Linked DNA regions of Homo sapiens: all the other regions are linked to region 3. The links are contacts of gene promoters, found by promoter capture Hi-C in blood cells and fetal thymus (Javierre and others, 2016). All regions are on one chromosome and are shown on one strand. The core of a region is centred on a gene start or on the middle of the fragment in contact, and the rest is flanking DNA. Distances in the headings are between cores, read along the strand shown.

Region 1 (2,721 bases), core at 146-2,645, 550 kb after region 3:
ACAGAGCACTTTGATCAGCTTATTCCAGATACAGCAAGGGCTAGGTTCTGACATGTGGTTACCTGGGAGGGAGGGAACAGGAGCCAGGGAGGATATAACAGGGAGTGCATCAGAGAGTTGAGAAGAGTCTGGTGGGTAAGGGCTGCAAGCTCAGGCTGCCTGAGAAGTCCCACAATCTGCCATCTGCAAGCCCTTTGGGCTTGGGCTGGAACTCTAGTTCCAGTGGCTCAGAGTGTACCCTCAGGGGCCCCATTCCTGCCCCTGAGGGTACACCATTCCCTCAAGGGCTGGAATGGGGTGGTCTGTGTCTCCAAGGAAGTTCTACCCCTTCTAGGAGAAGCAATAGAGATTGCGAACCATAGCCTTTTCCCTGTTTTGTGGGTCATAGAGTGGAGGTTGCAAACTCAAGGCCTGCCTGCATGAGGCTTGCAAAAACTTGTGAAAAGTTGCCAGCCATGGTGGTTAATTTCATGTACCAACTTGAGTGGGTTAGTGGGTCCCCAGATTAAACACTGCTTCTGGGTGTGTCTGTGAGGGTGTTCCAGGCAAGATTCGCATTTGCATCCGTGAACTCGCTTAAGCAATTGTGGGTGGGGGACATCCGATCCTTTGAGGGCCTGAATAGAATTTTAAAAAGAGAAAAATCCACCCCCACTTTTTTCTGGCCTCACAGCTTGAGCTGGGACATCTTGTTCTCATCTCCTGCCCTCAGACTGGGATTGACTCCACCTGCTCTCCCAGGACAGCCACTGGTGTAGTTCCAGTCCAAGCCCAAAGGGCTTGCAGATGGCAGACTGAGGGGCTCCTCGGGCTCCCTAATAGAAGGAGCCAGTTGCTCATAATAAACCCCTCTGTCTCTGTCTGTCTCTCTGTCTCTCCCACTCTCTCTCTGTATATGGAAACACACACATGTATATTCTATTGGTTCTGTTTCTCTGGAGAACTCTAATTAAATCAGTGTTTAAGAAAATGGAAGATTTCACACAAAATCTGGATCTTCAGCCTTTCTCGAAAAAACTGGAGGAGTTGGCACATCAGGCACTGTTATCTACAAGGGCACCCAGGGGCAGCAGAGGACCCCCACGATCAGCCCTGAGCTCTGCCATTCTCCGCAGTCCCCACCTGGCTGCTTGCTAGGGCCTGGACACCAGACATAATTAAGTTTGCAATCCTTAGCATAAAGGGAAGGCCATCGGGGTCCACGTATCCTGCCTCCCGGGCTGGTTCCTTCTGAGGGGTATCAGGGAAGGAACTGGTCCAGGCCTCTCTCCTGGGCTTGTGGATGGCTGTCTTCTCCCTGCATCTCTTTACGAGGCTTTCTGTCAATGCCTCTGTCTCTCTGTCCAAATGTTCCCTTTTTATAAGGACATCAGTCATATTGGATTAGGGCCCATCCTAATATGCTCATTCTAACTTGAGTACTTCTGTAAAGACCATATGTCTGAATAAGGTCACATCTAGGGGACTGGGGAATAGGACTCTAACATGTCTTTTTTTGGAGGGGAAACAAGTTAACCTATAACAGGTGGCTTTAGGAATCAACTTCATTTGTCCAAATGAATTATAGTTATTTCGCTTTCTCCTCCATGACATCGAACTCTGCTGACACCCTAGGTCAGGGATGACTTGTATATCACCGCTCTCACAGCAGACATCATTAACTGATCATCGAACTTTTGCATTGAGCCTGGCTGTGACCTCAGAATCCTTCTAAACACAGCTCTCCTGGTACCTACTACAAATCTGTTTATCGTGTCTGACCTGTGCCTTGCTCTGTTATGTGTTGCTTCTGTCTTGCTTGGTTCAATTCTGTTTCCTCTGCTTAGGAATGCTCTTAAAGCCCAATTCAGGTGTCTGCTTTCTCCCTTTGTATAGCCTTCCCTGATTATCCAAGCAAAGAATATCTCTCCTTCCATGTGCACCAATGCACTGGTTCTGAAATTGTCCCTGTAGGAAGGGCCCTCATTGGAAGAAAGAGACTTGGGGATGGGTTTGCATAAACTTTGCCCGGGAGTCAGAAAAGCCCAATTATTTACATTAAAGTAAGGGGGATGGGCTGGTGGAAATGGGAAGGAGGACCAACACCCCCAGCCCCTTATGCTCAGTACTTAGTACTCACCCTGCTTGTCTCATTCATTGCATCCTGAAAATTATCTGTGCAGAGAATGAGAATTTATGTCAACCTGAAAATGACAGCCTGCTTTCCCTTTGAAGGAGGGCTTCGGCCTATTCCTGGAGTGGTTTGAGGGGAGGGTGGATGTTCCCCAGATATATATAAATTACCCTCTCCTTCAGAGAGTGGAGATTTAGCAGTTGTGTTTTCCTAAGACAAGGCCTTCCCTGCTCTTAAGAAATGGGAAATTCAGTTTTTGGCTTTCTAATAACTTGAGCTCTGGGTTCTAGTATCACATGGAGATTTTTTCTGATTGGCTACTTAGCGGAAGGAGAAGAGGTAAACCAGGAGCGAGGAGCTGATCCCTCCAAGCCATTCTCCAAAAGTAGAGTCTGGGTGAGGTTCAACAGCAGCTTCCCCAAAGATATGTCCACTCTGAACCTCAGAAGTGGCCTTATCTGGAATAAGGATTTCTGCAGATGCGATTAAGACTAGGGCCTCAAGGTGATCTTATACCTGGATTAGGGCCCTAATGCTGATGACAAGTATCCTGATAAGAGACAGAAAAGAAGACACACAGGGCAGGTGTGGTGGCTCACACCTGTAAT
Region 2 (2,700 bases), core at 165-2,664, 540 kb after region 3:
ATTATATGGGAAGATTTTTCTCTGGGATAACAAATCCTTGTCATAAAGTAAGAGGTCTTTTTAAAGTAGGTAGGCTATAAGGCCTGTAATTTAAAATAATACTCCTTTCTCTAGGGTTTGGTGCAATTCTCCATTAATGAAGATAACATTTGAATTCCCCAAAGCAGGTGAGGAGTCGGGGAGGAGAAAGCGATGTTAAAATGAAAACTCACTGCAAAAGAGGAGGCAGAGGAAGAAGGAATGTAAACCCCTTAAAGCAGATGTGTGTGGGGCCTTATGAAGACCAGGATTCTGCGGGTGTCAGGGGATTGCCCCTCTTGACAGAGACTAGGGTTTTAGACTGAGGCTTCCTGCAGGGTGTTCGCATTGCCCTTCTCCGTTCCCCTTCAGACCTTTCTGGGGAGAAGAGGTGGGAGGAGGGGAGAAAGACTGTTCATCTTATTCTGAATCCTGGAGCAGCTGAAGGTTTTCTCTTGAGTCAGGATGCAGTGGTAATGCATTAACCAGCAAGTGTGGCCAAGGATAATGAAAAAGTGGGAAAGGAAGGTCCTCCTCCTCCCTGATTGTAGCATCCAGCAGTCTCTGTAGCCAGGTTACTCAAGAACCACATTTGATTTCCTGGCCCTTTGCCTTGGCAGTGATGGCATTTTTATTTCACTGTGTTTTAAAGTCTTCATTTATTTTTATAACATGGGTTAGGGAGAAGGGCCACAAATGGAGGGATTGTCCTTTCAAGCACCACAGCTTCAGATAAAATTAGTACTTTCAAATATTGTCCACTTTAACTTAAAAAATTCTAGAGGGATTATATTGGAGACTCAACTGCCCTTGGTTTTAGTTTATAAAATGGCCTAGTACTGTGGAATTTTAATTTTAGAAAGTCTTAGCATCAGATCATAAACATTCATTAAAAGAACTCACATCCCATCTGAAACTTCCCAGGGGAGTTGGGATTCTTAGTAGATTGGTAGAAAGGGGCTCATTTTCTACTGCATTTCCCATTTTTGGTATCTTGTTCAGCATGTTTTATTTTTATTTCTTGTCTGCAGAACATCCTATATTTATGAGAACATTCTTTAAGAAGACCACCACATAGAATACCCCTTCCTATCAGCTCGCTCTGATTTAGCCTTAATTTTGTTAAATTTTTTAGAGATGAATGAAGTGCTGCTGTGGAAAGAAATGTACATATACTATTTCTGTATCATTAAAATTACATTTTTATGGTTCCTTTTCCTGGATTTCTTTGAGGGAAGGGTTTTGGGTTATGAGAAGGCTGGAATTGGGTCTCTACAACACTTTAAGTTTTTGCTGTGGTAAGATTTCTTTGAGGAAATGCTATACCTGGGCACACCTCTGTGTCTTGATCAAGCCTCTACCACCATTACAATTGCTTTAGAAAACCTCACACACTTACCCTGTTCTGGGAGATGTGCCAGCGGCATTATGATGCTGTGTGGCTTCTTGATCTAGCCAAGTAATTCTGACCTCTGATGCTTGTTAAAGCTCAGCTGCTCCAGCCTCCAAGCCACTCCAGCCAGAAGTTGTCCCCCGCTGCTTCATTCCATCATCTATAAACATGAACCCAACACTGTTGCCTAAGGAGTAGTGTGTCCCATTCTTTTTTCTTTTTTTTGAGATGGAGTCTCGCTCTGTCGCCCCAGTTGGAGTGCAGTGGTGTGATGTCGGCTCGCTGCAATCTCTGTCTTTCAGGTTCCAGCGATTCTCCTGCCTCAGCCTCCCAAGTAGCTGGAATTACAGGCGTGCACCACCATGCCTGGCTAATTTTTTTGTGTTTTTAGTAGAGACAGGGTTTCACCATGTTGACCAGGCTGGTCTCAAACTCCTGACCTCAAGTGATCTGCCTGCCTGGGCCTCCCAAAGTGCTGGGATTATAGGCGTGAGCCACCACACCTGGCCAGTAGTGTGTCCCATTCTACCACAGCTTCCACAGAGGCAGTTAAATATTTTACTTTTTTGTGATAACCAGAGGAATGGTCGCACGATGTACTGTGTATTGAAATTCCTACTTTAGTCTTCTTTTAGGTAACAGATCAACCTTCCTTGGAAATTATTTGGAGTTTAAGTCACTTAATGTGCCATGATAGGAAAGCTAGAATGGTCTGAGTTGGTAATACTGGTATTGACAATACATTGAAGAACATTTCTGTTTCAGAACCCCATGGGTGGATATGCGTGCTTATATCCAAACAATGCTGTTCTGACATCACTGATCTTCCTTGTCAGATTCAAGGGTTGGCACACTTTTTCATAGTCGCCACTCCTTGTGACTCTGTTTGGGTCTGTTACCGTGACGGCGACAGTACATACCTTGTGCCCATCTGCGGATCTGGACAGTTGTGAAAACAAGTCCTTGTCAGAAGAAAGCTGGCCTGGCCGAAGGAGGAGCCACTGGCCCTCCCCTAAGCCCCTTTTTCTGACTTGCTGAGGCATGTTCTTCCTCATTATCACCTCATTATCAAACTTCGAGCAGCAGTTCTCCATTCAATCCTGGTTGCATGTTGAATTCACACAGGGAGATTTTAAAGACGCCAGTGCCTGTGCACACCCCAGACCTATTGGAATCTCTGAAGATGGGGCCAGACAGTGGGTCCTTGTCAAAGCTCCTTATGCATTTCTGTTTCAGAACCCCATGGGTGGATATGCATGCTGATATCCAAACAATGCTGTTATGACATC
Region 3 (2,700 bases), core at 133-2,632:
TTTTGTCAGTCATATAGGATGTGACTTTCTCCTAGTCAGTGGCTTGTCTTTCCCCTCTTTTGATGATGATGATGTCTGTTCCTTCTCTGCTCTGGGACATTTGCTAGGGAGACATTTGCTGATAGGAGGGCGACCCTGATGGGGAGGATCCCCTGAGGTCTCCCACTCCCTCCTGTGGCCTCTGGAGCAGCCTGGAACCCTGTGTGAGTCCTATGCCTGTCTCCACCAGATGGCAGACCTTAGATCACCTGCTAGTTCCCTGCATGGGGCCTGGCACAGAGACAGCACCTAACATGTTCAGTTCCTCCTGATCAGTATGTGTGGGATGTCTACTCTGTGACCAGCTGGGGCTGGACGCTGGGGACACAGCTGTTGATATTACAGCTGCCCTCCCATCTCTGCCCTCCTCAAGGATATAACCTAGGAAAGACAGACCAGCAACCAGTGGTCACAGCACAGAGGTGCTGTGATGGAGGAAGGTGCAGGGGTTAGAAGACCAGAAGAGGGGTGTCTGACCCTGGATGTGGGAGGTGGAGGAGGTACACCATTGCTTTGAGGAGCTCGTAATCCCAGGATGCCAGTCACATGCTCAGAAGGGCTCCCTGAGGACCAGGTGCTGCTGTGGCCAGCGGGCTGGAGGCCTCCCCCTCTGTTTTGGGAGTCTCCACTCTCTCCTCTTAGCCTCTCCTGATCTGCTCCCTCGCCACTGAGCGCCCCATGATCCCAGTGGGGAAACTGAGGCCTGGCATAGCAGAAGGGGTGCTGGGGTTTGATTCCCAGCCTCATGGTGCCCAGGGATGTTGGGGGCTCTCCAGGGACTCTGATTTTGGAATAGGAGCCCCAAGGATGGGCCTGCCCCTGCCCTGCTCCCAGCATGGGAGCGTAGGTGAGATGGAGAGGCAGTGGGCTGGGCTGGAAGATCTTTGACCTCTCCTGGGCCCCTCTCAGAGGTGGACGGGGCCACCTTACTACATAGATAGGGAAATTGAGTCCCAGGAAGGCGCGGGGGGCCTGTCTGTGAGCGTCAGAGCCCACAGGAGGCTCAGGCCAGGCCGCTAATTGCTAATTGCTCACTAAGGATGCATTTGCTCCCCACTTTGAACAGTTGTCTTGGGGCTTCTAATGGAGGTTTTTGGTGCTTGTTTTATTATTATTTTTTCAAAATTGTTCCAGCTTCAAGCTTCAAATTTCCATGAAGTCATTGGAGCCCGACAGCTCCCAGGCCTGGCAGCTCCCAGGCTGCGGAGAGCAGCACTGTGGCTGGGGGAGGGGGCCCTGCACACCCCGAGAGGCTGGGCTGTGGGCTGTGCCTTAGCCTTGCTGCCGCCGCCGCCGCTGCTGCCGCTGCCGGAGCAGGAAGTGGTGGGTCCCAGATGTGACTCACTCTCATTAGGTAGCGTGGAAGGAGCCTTCGGATGGGTGAGCCTGGGCGCGTCTGAGGAAGGGCAGGCGGGGGCCGGGCCACCTCCCTGCAGACCCTGGCCGGCTGCTGGGGCCGGGGAGGAGAGCCAGGTAAAAGTGGGGTGTGGGGATGGAGTGTCACCAGTCCTAGTGGCTTGAGCCCCAGGGGACGGGGCTGGACAGTGGGTGGGAAGCAGCTCACCCGGCAGCCTGGCCTGGGAGTGCACTGGGCAGGGTCTGGGCTGGGGGAGTAGGAGGCTCCGTGAGCCTACTGGGCAGATGGCTGGGAGAGGCGGCCCTTCAACAGGGGACCAGAGGCGACTTGTCACTGGCTTTTCCCAGCCTGACAAGAAAGTGCGGTTGTGACCACAATGTTGTACATGTGGCCCGTTCCATCTGGAATTCTAGGAACCACAGACTCTCAAATGTCCACACTCCTTCTCGAGGGTGTAATTTTACATTTACAAGCACACATGACTTTTCTCAATGAAAGGAAACATTGGCAAGGGAAGGCCAATTCAACTAATTTTATGAAATTATAAAACAAAAAACAAACAAAACCTCTGAAAGGAGTGCATGCCTGAGGGTCAGGAAACCAAGATGCCTCCAAAAAGCAGACTGGTTTCCCTTTCCCTGCAATGCCTCTCCTCTATCCCCCAGGGACCGCATGGGCCATCTGGAGTGGGTCTTTCTGGAGCGGGTCTTTCTGGAGCTTTCTATGCATTCATCTAAACATGTATGTACAGAGGGTGAGGCAGTTGCCTCTTCTCTGTGTCATCACATCAGGGTCAAGGGCAGGGACATCTGTGGCTGGGGGCTTCCTCCCTGGACAGCCATTGCTGGAGAGGAGAAGGGAGGGCCGGGAGGGGGAAGCCAAGGGCCTGGAGGTAGGGGCCAGGCCGAGCCACCTACGACAGGGGCCCTGGGTCCAAGGCCTGGACGGGCAGCCAGTGTGGGCTGGATGTGTCTGGAAGGGCTATGTGACCGTGGGCCTTCACTAGCATCACCATCTTGCAGATGGAGGCTGTGAGGGGTGGACTCAACACCAGTGTTTCTCGGAGTGAGGACCGGGCTGCCCAGGGAATCACAGGGGGTTCTAGCCTGTGTGTGGAAGGACATGTTTAAAATCTAAGTATTTGTCTTGGGGAAAAAAAAATCTGTAAATAGGACATTGCCATTGTGACATCATGACTGTATTATTGTCTTAGACGAGGCCAAAGGAGACATAAAAGTGACAAGCCAGCCAATTTGAGAGGAAGTGCCAAGTGCCAGCCCTGCAGGAAGTGCAGGAGGCTGAGG

What was found. The method cuts DNA at HindIII sites, captures the fragments that hold promoters and counts their contacts. A CHiCAGO score of 5 or more calls a contact.
Region 1: a fragment that was not itself captured here is called in contact with the fragment with the promoter of ADCY7 in region 3 in 6 of 17 cell types (naive CD4 T cells, naive CD8 T cells, total CD4 T cells and 3 more); the score reaches 8.3 in naive CD4 T cells.
Region 2: a contact is called between a fragment that was not itself captured here and the fragment with the promoter of ADCY7 in region 3, in 1 of 17 cell types (total CD4 T cells). The highest score is 5.1, in total CD4 T cells.

The regions. Positions count from the first base shown.
Region 1 is chr16:50,818,677-50,821,397 of GRCh38, forward strand. No RefSeq gene overlaps it. Among named protein-coding and RNA genes, the nearest start is that of LINC02168, 13 kb to the left of the region's middle. The HindIII fragment of the contact is 9,826 bases long and covers 1-2,721 here.
Region 2 is chr16:50,800,706-50,803,405 of GRCh38, forward strand. It overlaps CYLD (CYLD lysine 63 deubiquitinase), which reads left to right. Exons shown (of 19, transcript NM_001378743.1): 19 at 1-1,230. CYLD-AS2 (CYLD antisense RNA 2) reads right to left here and starts at 2,640. Exons shown (of 3, transcript NR_187251.1): 1 at 2,332-2,640; 2 at 1,418-1,571. The HindIII fragment of the contact is 3,568 bases long and covers 1-2,700 here.
Region 3 is chr16:50,265,169-50,267,868 of GRCh38, forward strand. ADCY7 (adenylate cyclase 7) reads left to right here and starts at 1,383. Exons shown (of 26, transcript NM_001114.5): 1 at 1,383-1,512. RefSeq lists enhancers at 527-1,120, 1,066-1,155. The HindIII fragment of the contact is 14,845 bases long and covers 1,179-2,700 here.